Linked DNA regions of Homo sapiens: region 2 is linked to region 1. Evidence: promoter capture Hi-C in 16 types of primary human blood cells and fetal thymus (Javierre and others, 2016). All regions are on one chromosome and are shown on one strand. Each heading gives the region's core, a stretch centred on a gene start or on the middle of the fragment in contact. The rest is flanking DNA. Distances are from core to core; before and after follow the strand shown.

The links. Contacts are between HindIII fragments. The CHiCAGO score rates a contact against its expected background, and 5 or more counts as called.
Region 2: a contact is called between a fragment that was not itself captured here and the fragment with the promoter of RNF122 in region 1, in 1 of 17 cell types (M2 macrophages). The highest score is 5.0, in M2 macrophages.

Annotation. Positions count from the first base shown.
Region 1 is chr8:33,564,905-33,570,700 of GRCh38, reverse strand. It overlaps RNF122 (ring finger protein 122), which reads left to right and starts at 3,573. Exons shown (of 6, transcript NM_024787.3): 1 at 3,573-4,002. The coding sequence starts at 3,978. RefSeq lists silencers at 3,689-3,808, 3,859-3,928, 3,959-4,008, 4,149-4,198. The HindIII fragment of the contact is 8,620 bases long and covers 2,611-5,796 here.
Region 2 is chr8:38,790,442-38,796,237 of GRCh38, reverse strand. All of the region lies in intron 2 of TACC1 (transforming acidic coiled-coil containing protein 1), which reads right to left. Among named protein-coding and RNA genes, the nearest start is that of TACC1, 6.1 kb to the right of the region's middle. RefSeq lists an enhancer at 1,973-2,267. The HindIII fragment of the contact is 2,505 bases long and covers 1,594-4,098 here.

The sequences.
Region 1 (5,796 bases), core at 2,324-4,823:
CACTTTGGGAGGCCAAGGCTGAGGGATTGCCTGAGTTCAAGAGTTTGAGACCAGCCTGGGCAACATGGCGAAACCCCAGAAAATTAGCCAGGCATGGTAGTATGCGCCTGTAGTCCCAGCTGGTCGGGAGGCTGAGGTGGGAGGATCGCTTGAGCCTGGGAGGTGGAAGTTGCAGTGAGCCGAGATGTCACCACTGCACCACTGGGTGACAGAGCAAGACCCTGTATAAAAAAATTAATTAATTTTAAAAAAAAGTTTTTCCGGAAGTTTAGTATTATTTTTTCCCTTTCCATGGAAGATTTTAAAACATATTTCTTTCTTTTCTTTTCTTTTGTCTTGCTCTGTTGCTCAGGCTAGTGTCTAGTGGCACAATCATAGCTCACTGCAGCCTTGAACACCTCAGCCTCTGGAGTAGCTGGGACTACAGGCATGTGCCGCCATGCCCAGCTGATGTTTATTTTTTGTAGAGATGGGGTCTTGCTATGTTGTCCAGGCTGGTCTCCAACTCCTGGCTCAAGCTCCTTCACCTCAACCTCTCAAAGTGCTGAGGTGTGAGCTACCACACCCATCCTAGAAACATATTTCTACCTCATATTTATCAAGTAGCTTTGAATATATGGCCCATCATCTTCTTTACTGTTTCAGTTTCTTCCTCAATAAACCAAACTAGTCTTCCTGACTCATGTGGAGCTGAGTCACCTGGTGGTGAGGGTGGAGGAGTGAGAGATCTAAATTTGGTTGACATGGTGTGAGAAATCAGCTTATCTTTCATAGAACCCTTCAGTCCAGGAAAATGCTGGGACTGAACCAATCATTTCAAAGATGCCCAGAACCAAAGCCCTTCTACCAACATATAACTCCCAATGTCAGCCATCAGTTGAGGTCCTGTGGCCACACTGGCCAGGAGGGACGAAGGGAGGAGAGTGTGAAGGGATACAGCAGTTTTTCGAAATTGGAGTCCTTAAGTGCCTCTGGAGATCTTATTGAATGCTTAAAATATCAGGCTTAAAATATAAATTGTTGCACCTGTAATCCTAGCTGCTCAGGAGGCTGAGGCAGGAGAATCACTTGAACCTGGGAGGCGAAGGCTGCAGTGAGCTGAGATCAAGCCACTGCACTCCAGCCTGGGCGACACAGAGCAAGACTCCGTTTCAAAAAAAGAAGAATTTCCATCATTCCTACCTTTAAGGGTGTTTTCCTTCCAAGAACCTCTAGTCCAAAGGCGAGTGGGACGGGAGGTGTTCCTCACTTCCCATCAATTTTCCCTTCAAAGGCTCTCCTTCTTTCACAGTCTGGCGCTGGAGGCAGTTAGCAGGAGAGCCTTAATAAAATTAGGATTACCCATCACATCTCTCCCCCGAGCCAATGAATAGAAAGAACAATAGTTACCATTATGCACACTTTTTTTTTTAAAGACTTTATTTTTCAGCGTAGTTTTAGGTTCACAGCAAAATTGAGAAGAAGGTACAGAGTTCTGATACACCCCCAGCCCCACACATGTATAGCCTCCCCCATTAATCCTAGCACTTGGGAGGCTGAAGCAGGCAGATAGCCTGAGCTCATGAGTTTGTGACCAGCCTGGGCAACGTGGCTAAACCCAGTCTCTACAAAAAAAAAAAAAAAAAAAAAATTAGCCGGGCATAGTGGTGAGTGCCTGTAGTGCCAGCTACTCAGGAGGCTGAGGTGGGAGGATGGCTTGAACCCAGGAGGTGGAGGTTGTAGTGAGCCAAGATCATGCAACTGCATTCAAACCTGGGCAACAGAACCAGACCTTGTCTCTAAATAAATAAAAACAACAACAAAAAAGAATATACACAGCCTATGTTCAAGGAAGAGTAACAACAAAAAGCTTCATGGCTGATGAATAGTGTGTGGTGAAGGGGAGTATTTGAGTATGAGGAAGACTGAAACAAATAAGGCTAGACTGAAACACTTTATTTTAATAGTTTTTTCTTTTTTCTTTTTGAAACAGAGTAGTCTCATTCTGTCGCCCAGGCTGGAGTGCAGTGGCACAATCACAGCTCACTGCAGCTGCATCCTCGACTTCTCGAACTCCAGTGATTCTCCCACCTCAGCCACCAGAGTAGCTGGGACCGCAGGTGCGCACCACCAGGCCCAGCTAATTTTTGTATTTTTTTTACAGGTGGCTTCACCATGTTGCCCAGGATGGTCTCAAACTCTTGAGCTCAAGCAATCTGCCCGCCTCAGCCTCCCGAAGTTTTGAGATTATAGGAGTGAGTCTAGACTGAAACATTTTGAATGCCACACTCTAGTTTACAGAACTTTATTCAGTAAACACTGGAGACCAACAAACGTTATCAAGCAAAGAAATGTTCAGATTTACATTTTACAGAGATAATTGTGACCAGAAGGGATGGACTTGAGAGTGAAATCAGAGCACTGTTTCTTTCAATAGCCGCATGAGAATTTGAGGGGTGGGGAAGACAAGGCACATTAAAATGAAAATTTCTGGGTCCACCCTTTATTGAATCAGAATCTCTGGGTTCAAGGCCTGGGAATCTGCATGTTACATCTCAAACATAGGAGTGATTCTTGTAGGCTCTGAAGTCTGAGCTATAGACTAGAATCAGAATGGCCAGTTAGGAAGCTTTTGCAATTATCCAATTAAGAAATGAAATGTCCTGGGTGCCATGGCTCATGCCTGTAATCCCAGCAATCTGGGAGGCTCAGGCGGGAGGATCACTTGAGTCCAGGAGTTCGAGACCAGCCTGAGCAACATAGTGAGGCCACTCATCTATACAAAACAATTAAAAAGTAGCTGGGCTTGGTGGCAGGCACCTGTGGTCCCAGTTTCTTGGGAGGCTAAGGTGGCAGGACTGCTTGGGCCCAGAAGTTGGAGGCTGCAGTAAGCTATTATTGCACCGCTGCACTCCAGCTGAGTGACAGAGCAAGACTCTAACTCAAAAAAGAAAAAGAGGGCCGGGAGCGGTGGCTCACGCCTATAATCCCAGCACTTTGGAAGGCTGAAGCAGGAGGATCACTTGAGGCCAGGAGTTCGAGAACAGCCTGTCCAACATGGCGAAACCCCGTCGCTATTAAAAATACAAAAATTATCTGGGCATGGTGGTAAGCGCCTGTAATCCCAGCTACTCAGGAGGCTGAGGCAGGAGAATCACCTGAACCCGAGAGGCAGAGGTTGCAGTGAGCTGAGATCGCGCCGCTGCACTCCAGCCTTGGCGATAGAGGCAGACTCTGCCTCCAAATACATAAGTAAATAAATAACAGATCTGTAGGCGGAAAACAATGTGGCAGTAATTGTTCCTTTGCCTTGGTGTCCCTGGGCAAAAGGCAGGCCCCCACTCCGGGGCATCGCTCGTCGCCGCTCCATTCTCTGCAGACCGAAGTTTCCCCAGGCCTGGGAAGACTAAGTGGGAGGCGCCCACCGTGCGAAGATCCTCCCGGCTTCCAGGGAAGGGAGGCTGGGCCTGCAAATAATAGCCGGGGGCAGGAGAAAGGCTCCGATTGGTCGGAGGGAGGGTGACGAACAAGGGGCGGAGTTTTCCTGGGGACTGGTGGGGGAAGTAAAAGGGAGGGGGTGTGCACCGCCGGGTGTCAGTTTCGGAACCCCAGCCAGCTCACCTCTGCGCCGCTGAACCCGATCCGAGCCTCCGGCAAAGGTTTTTCCCTCCTCCCCCGGCCGAGGGCTTCTGCAGCCCGGGCACCCCCGCCCCGCGGCGCCCCACATTCCCCCAGCCCGGGGCCCTTGGCGCGTGCGCTCCGTGCGGCTGTGCTCCGCGGGACTTTGTTTGTTTCCTCCTCGTCCCTCTTTGTTGGGCTGAACACCAGCCTCGTCAAAGCCCCCCACTCCGGAGGGAGTTCGGCTTCTCCAGCAGGGCGGCTGCAGCGCGCTGCCCCGACCCCGCCTGCGGCCCCTCACGCCGCTAGTGCTCCCACCCCGCCCTCCTGGCACCCCGCCTGCGTCCGTTCGCCCGAGGAAGCCAACCGCGACTTCATTGATGCACCCATTCCAGTGGTGTAACGGTGAGTCCCCGGGGCGAGGGCCGAGCCTACGTGGGGCTGGTGGGAGCCGCGGCGCGGGGTGCGAGGTCGGACAGCAGCGCGCTGGTCCTCCCTCGGGAACCAAGTTTCTCCTGAAATGGGACAGTCGAGAAGGCGTCTTGGCGCCCCACTCTGCTCTGCACAGCGCGGAATTTGAAACTATCCAGGTTTCACTCCAGAGCCTGGAAGGGGCCTCCGGACTGGCGGCGGGCCGGGGGCGTGGGAGCCGAGGGGTTCCCGGCCTTTGTGTGGCGGCCCGGCTCTTCTACCCCCTTCCCCTGCCTTTGTGCGCTCAAACTCTGTTCTTTGTTGTGGTTGTTGGAGGAGAATTAAATCCGCACTCGGGCTGGGATCTCCTAGAGGGAGCTCAAGTTCCCGGCCTGAAACTTTGCAGGCTATTGTAAATATGTATACCGTGCAGCGTGCGGGACTGGGCGCGGGGGTAGCTTCCTCTGGCTTTGTTGGTTTCCCACGGGCTGCTGGCGTGGCTTGGGTGCTTGCGGAAGACTGGATTAAAGAGTCGCTTTCGGCCAGGCGCGGTGGCTCACGCCTGTAATCCCAGCACTTTGGGAGGCCGAGGCGGGCGGATCACCTGAAGTCGGGAGTTCGAGACCAGCCTAACCAACATGGAGAAACTCCGTCTCTACTAAAAATACAAAATTAGCCGGGAGTGGTGGCGCATGCCTGTAAGCCCAGCTACTTGGGAGGCTGAGGCAGGAGAATCGCTTGAACCCAGGAGGCGGAGATTGCAGTGAGCCTAGATCGTGCCATTACACTCCAGCCTGGGCAACAAGAGCGAAACTCCATCTAAAAAAAAGCCGTTTTCCTGAGTTGATAAACCCTCGCAGAGAGCTCCGCGCCCGGCTGTCCCTGGGGTGCGAGGCTGGCCTGGCGGGAGCCGTGTTTCTGGCCACAAGGCCAGATTAGGGTGTCTGCTCCTGAGCCCAAGTGAAGGCCACACCTCCAGACGCGACAACCCCTCGCCCCATTTCTCCCCAGGCCTGGGTGATGCTTCTAAGTTAGTTCATTTCACCTGAGGCTTTTTGGAGGTTCAGGTGATACTGGGTTAGGCTGGAGTCTGATTCCTCAGCGAGCTACCTGAAAGGTAGGTGTTTCTGAGCGGGACACTTCAAAACCTTGGATACTAATCGCCCCCCACCCCACCCGCTCCAGTCCTCCTGGGGTCCTAGTCTTGACCGCGTTGTTCCGATGCTTGGAGAGTTTCTGGGAGAGAGAGATGGGAAGCAGCTGGCCTTATCTCTCAGTATGGCAAGCGAGCTAGTTACAGGGGGAAAAAAATCATTCTTTAGAGTAGACTCCTGCCAGATCTTGGATTAATTATGTCAAGAGGCTTTGTTTTGAGGCAGGGTTTGGGTAGCATGTATACCCCACATCCCCCCACCCCGCCTTCCTCCTTTTGCTGGTCGGATCTCATTTCCTGAAAATGAACCAAGCCGTGTGTGATAGGCGGTTTTGTGGGAGAGGGGGCAGAGGATGGGGGTTGAGGAAGGCCCTTGCACCCTAGCATCTGGGAAAGATTCCCGTTGGCTGGGAAAGAGAAGCAGTTCCCAGATCCCCTGGTCTTTCTTGGCCAGCCCTTGTCTGACGTCATTCCTGCTCCCAGCCTGCCAGATGAGATGAGACATTCTGATGTCAGTGCTTTCATAGGTTGGCCGAGACAATGGAACAGAGACTTAGGGAGAAATGAGGCAGCTGTCAGTAACACTGCCCTTTCTGGGCAGCGCCCTTTCATATCAGATTTTAGACTTGCTGCTT
Region 2 (5,796 bases), core at 1,597-4,096, 5.2 Mb before region 1:
CAGTAAAGGCTCTGGCCTCAATTTCCCAATCTGTGAAATGGAAATCACTTGTGTCCTATCTCGCAGAATCATGGTCATAAAAATCAAACAAGATGCTGCAAACAAAGATTACTTGTTCCCAACACATCTAATAAATAAATACGGCTGAAACAGATAGCTGGTGATCTGCTAGGTGGGAATATTGTAATGGGAAAGCTGGAGATCAATCATTTATTGTCATATTTCCAGCTATGATATAAGAAAGAGGGTCCTCGACTGGCTAGGAGAGTATCTGCATCTGCCAAACTGTCAAGATACATTTTTCATTTGTGAATTAATAAAATACTCCATGCCATTATTATTATTCCCTTGTGAGTCTGGCCATCATCAATCTAAACCCTGGGGATCTAATCATGTTTGTTTGAACTCATAAAATTAGGTCATGTACATGCAAAGGTGAGGGTGAGATCTTGAACTCACAAGTAGCAAAGCCTTTCTAAGCCCAGATTTAATAGTCACCAGGCAATTTAGCAACCTTGGTTATGAAATCTCCACTGAGAGGGTTGTTTTGGGTGGATAAACCATTATCTCCCATCGCTACTCTGGATTTAGGAGAGTGTGACAAAATGGTTTATACCCTCCAAGATTTCCTCTGGGCAGTATAACTGGTAACCTGAAAAAGACACTGCAACTGCTCTTTCATTTAAATGTTTAAATGGCTTTAGGCCACATCCATTTTGTAGGTGGGACATTACATGGCAGCAATATAATTTTAGAAGGACTGCCGGCTCCCAAAACACATACACAGGTAGAAAGTGTCTCTGCCACCCGCAAGTACCAAAGTAAGTTCTACTGCTTTATTCGATGCTTGGGTAAGCCCAAAATGGGGGAGTGCAAGGTCTTGATTTTGTCACTCATCTTAAAAGAAAAATTGTGATTTGATAGTTACTAAAATCTTTCCTTTCTGCAGGTAGACTTTGCTTCCCTGCCCTGGAATTTTTTATTCAGACACTGTTGCTCCTCTGTGGTTCTGCACTCTCACAAGTTTCTGCTGGAAAAACTACACTTTTTTCCCCAGGAAGACACTCCCTTGGGTAAGGCACCATATAGAAGCAGGTGCTTCCTAGGGGCACATTTACATTGTGATAGAGCAACAACAACAAAAAAACACATGACTCTGATCTCATTTATTAGCTGGTTGGAATCTCCAACTTCAGAGCTAAAAATACATGAAAAAACAAAGTAGCTATATCATGCTAAGATTTTCAAGCTTTAAATACCTTAACATGGAATTATACAGTACAAAAAAATCAAACTGTGGAAGAGGCAATCACAGCAAAACATTAAAAATTTAAAATTAAATTAAAAGCATTAGGCTGCGATGCTGTTGAAGGAGCCACATGGGTTGGACTGCTGGACTAGGTAATATGAAAGGTCCTAATTAGTCCCATTATTTCTAGGAAACTCTAATAAAGCATTCCCTTGTTGGAGCAGGGAAAGGATGTTAAACTAAATCCTTAGGAGGATATACTTGTAGACTTGAATGGAACACTTCAATATGTACCTAATGAAAATTTTTCACATAGTATCTGATTAAACATATAACTCAAAGCTTTAGAATAAAAAATCAAAGCCTCTGATTTTAACAAGGTTTCCATGCTGTGTTTTCTATAGCACGCACACACACACACACACAAACAAACACACACACACGTGCAGTCTAAAACATTCTAAAAATACACCATATCAACCTTTTAAGAGATCTGCACAGTCAACTTACAAATTCTCATACACCCGAAGTTACATTAAAGACATTTAATGGGTTGGGTGAGGCTGGCTCATGCCTGTAACCCCAACACTTTGGGAGGCCAAGGTGGGAGGATCACTTGAGCCCAGGAGTTCGAGACCAGCCTGGGCAACACAGTGAAACCCCATCACTATTTTTTTAAAAAAAATTTAAGAAAATAAAATGTTAAAAAAAATTTAATGGGCAAAAGTTAAAAGTCTATGTGTTTGTACTTCTATTAAATGATTCCAATATTCTCCCCATTCTTCCCTAATTTCCTTTTTAAATAATTTTTATTCCTCCTTAGATCTTTGAGTCAATTGAAAATCAAGTTCATTGCAGACCAATTACATCACTTCCCCTTTGCAAATATGACAAATAGCCAGGCCACATCAGGCTCTCCCCTGGGCCTTCCCTGAACATGCAGGCCTAGACTAATGGCACCTCACGCCCACAGTTCATTTGTTCAGCAGGTATAACCTTGCACCTTTTCATTCTTAAAGCCATTTTCCCAAATTACTTAAACTCTGTATTTTTACTGAAATTGTAATAAGTATAGATGTAGGTTGACATTTTTTTTCTGTACAAGATAGTAAATATGTTAGACTTTTGCCAGACATTTGGTCTCTGTTCCAAGTACTCAACCCAGCTATTGTAGAGCAAAAGCAGCCATAGACAATACATGAATGAATGAGTATGGCTGTATTCCAATAACTTTATTTATGGGGATGACAGTGGTGGTTCAAACCTGAAATCCCAGCATTTTGGGAGGCTGAGGTGGGAGGATCACTTACTTGAGCCCTGGAGCTCAAGATCAGCCTGGGCAACATAGCAAGACCCCATATCTACCAAAATATATATTTCATATATATATAACTTGATGGGCCCTGAAATTTTGTTTTGTTTTTTTTTAAGAACTACTTTATTGAGATATAATTCACAAACCATACAGTCCACCCTTTAAAATATATGATGCAATGGTTTTTAGTAAATTCACATAATCGTGTGACCATTGATGGGCCCTGAAATTTGGATTTCACATTATTTTCACACATCACCATTAAACCATCAAAAAATGTAAAACTCATTCTTCTGTTCAGGGCCATGCAAAAAAACAGGACAGGCAGGGCTTGGTCTATGAGTCACAGTTTGCTGATTCTGATCGAGACTACCAAAATTGTGTCAACAAACAACTTGGCATTCCCTCACAGGCCTGAGGCAGTAAATATCTGTGCACAGATCCCATTTATCTCTTTTCTTCTATTCTGGGGAAAAGTCCAGAGAACTACAGTTTGTGTTTGAAATACCTAGGCATTTAATTAACACATCAAACTGGAGAGGTTTAACGAGTTGTTCCAAGGGTGATGTGAGAGCTTCTACACTAATTAAGATTCTCTTTCTCAGAGAGAGGTAACAATCTGTAGATAAAGGTGTGTGTGTTTGGGGAAGGGGGGCTATGTTGGTGAAGGAGAAACTCAAGGGGCAGAGGGCACCCACTGCAGTTTTTGTGACTGAAACAGCTACACAAAGCCACAACCCCTAAGTCCTCCATAAACACACATGCAAACACAAAAGCCAGGCATGGTAGCTCACGCCTGTAATCCCAGGACTTTGGGAGGGTGAGGCAGGAGAATCCCTTTAGGCCAGGAGTTCGAGATCAGCCTAGGCAACATAGCAAGACCCTATCTCTACAAAAAATAAAAAAACTGGCCAGGCGTGGTGGCTCACGCCTGTAATCCCAGCACTTTGGGAGGCCAAGGCGGGCGGATCACGAGGTCAGGAGATCGAGACCATCCTGGCTAACACGGTGAAACCCCGTCTCTACTAAAAATACAAAAAATTAGCTGGGCGTAGTGGTGGGCGCCTGTGGTCCTAGCTACTTGGGAGGCTGAGGCAGAAGAATGGCGTGAACCCAGGAGGCGGAGCTTGCAGTGAGCCGAGATCGCACCACTGCATTTCAGCCAGGGCAACAGAGCGAGACTCTATCTCAAAAAACAAAACAAAACAAAAAATTAGCCAGGCATGGTAGTGTGTGCCTATAGTCCCAGCTACTCAGGAGGCTGAGGCAGGAGGATCATCTGAGCCCAGGAGTTGGAGGCTGCAGTAAGCTATGATCATACTACTGCACTCCAGTCTAGACATAGATCCTGTCTCAAAGCAAAACAAAACAGAGGATGAACTTGAGATTGTACCTCCTCAAAAGTCCATTCCTAGAGGATGTTTCTTCACCAATATATTTCCCAGCAAAGAGAAAGACCACCACAACAGCAGCAGCATTAAACAACTTTAGTGGGAGAAAACAGACAGATAGCAAATACAGACCAGCCCAAGCTTTACAGCTACCAGTCTGGTTATTTCCAGGAAATATCTTTAGCTAGAGTTTTATTTTACCAGTAAGCCTAAAACCTGCTTCTATATGTGGCTTCAAAAAAAATCTACAACCTTATCCGCCACTTAACTCCTGGCATACAACTCTTAGGAAGAGTCATTATAGAGTTTAGATACTGCAAGTTCCTAAAGCAGTTCCAGTATAAGAAAAGTCATTTCAAAATAGTCTTAGATGTTTCCCTGAGTTCAAAGAACTATACAGAAGTCAGCACAGGAGCCATGGGTATGGTAAATGTAGCCCACACGTTTGAGGGCCATTATGTACCAGGAAGCCAGAATGTTTACATATTTCAACTCCAACTCCTGACTAACTCCTCGTAAATCATTCTTCCAGAATGATTTAGTCTTATATAATTTATAACTGCGGTCCAACCATGTCTTGGAACCACAAAAGTATGAAAGACTATCTTTACCAGGAACAAAACAATCAATAATTTTGGGAGAAAGGGAACTTATCCAGTCCCAGAAATTAAACTTCAATATGAAATGACTCTGAAGGGCTTTCTGCCCACTGAAATCCTCTCCAGGCAGACCTGTGCTCTGGCTGTCTTTGCACATTTGCTGTGTATGTGTGACAAGGCCATTGGCGGTACTCTGGACTAGCTCCGGATGTTGCACCCAAGGACCCTGGAAGTCAGGGTACGACCAGGTTGATGAGCAATCATCCTATTGTTTAAAGACCCTAAACTGAAAGCCTTCATAATATGCAGGGTTGTTTCCTGGACTGGACACTCCTCTACCCCTACAATTACAGTCTGCATTCATGAACTACCCCATAGAGCCTTCATGATCCATAAACATTTAAAAGTTTTCCTTTTAGAGAGAATGAAAAAAATGTGAGAGTCACTGGTACAGGAAGGACCAAACAATTGGGTCTCTGTGGTTTTGGGGGCCTAGGTCATCCAGGCCTCTATTCAATTGGCAAAGAATCTGGCGGGATGAATCAGTCTAGCAGCTGACAAAACGATGAGGAAGGGCCGCCCAAGCTGATGGCAATTCAAAAAGGCTTTCAAACAGCTCCTTAACATGTGTCTTATGAGCTTTATTTAAATTTGATGGAAAGGCCACCAAATAGTTCTTTCAAGCTTCAAAATCTCCCTTCTGATCTGCCAATCTTTACGGAAGAAAAGGGAAGCTATGAGGAATAAGTGTTATCTTCATCACTGAGAGTGCTACACAGCTATGCGTCGCACACAAATTCTCCAGTATATAAGCTTGCCTATTCCCATGTTGTCCCTGCCTAGAACAATGGCAAAATGCAGCCTAGGGCAAGTTGAGGGTATTGCTGAATTCTCAGCTGGGTAAGCACAGCATGGAGCTATCAATTTAAAGCAAAACCAAATCAGCTTTTTGCTGATGTCATTTTACCAATAATTCCAGCTCCATCATGCAGTCTATTACCAGAGTAACTTGACTTCCCTAGGCAACCTACGAAGAAGTTGCTAAGCAATAAAAATACTTATTAGGGAGAGGAGAAAGTCACAATCAGCACAAAGTTTAGGTAGCTAGATAACTGAAAGCTGGCGCTGCCACTTCAGGGTGACAGTGCCAGATACTGGAACAGAGAAACCACATAAAAAGGACTTCCATCCTAGAGTCCCTTCTCCACACAGCAGCCCAGGGAGCCTTTTACAAAAGAAGCT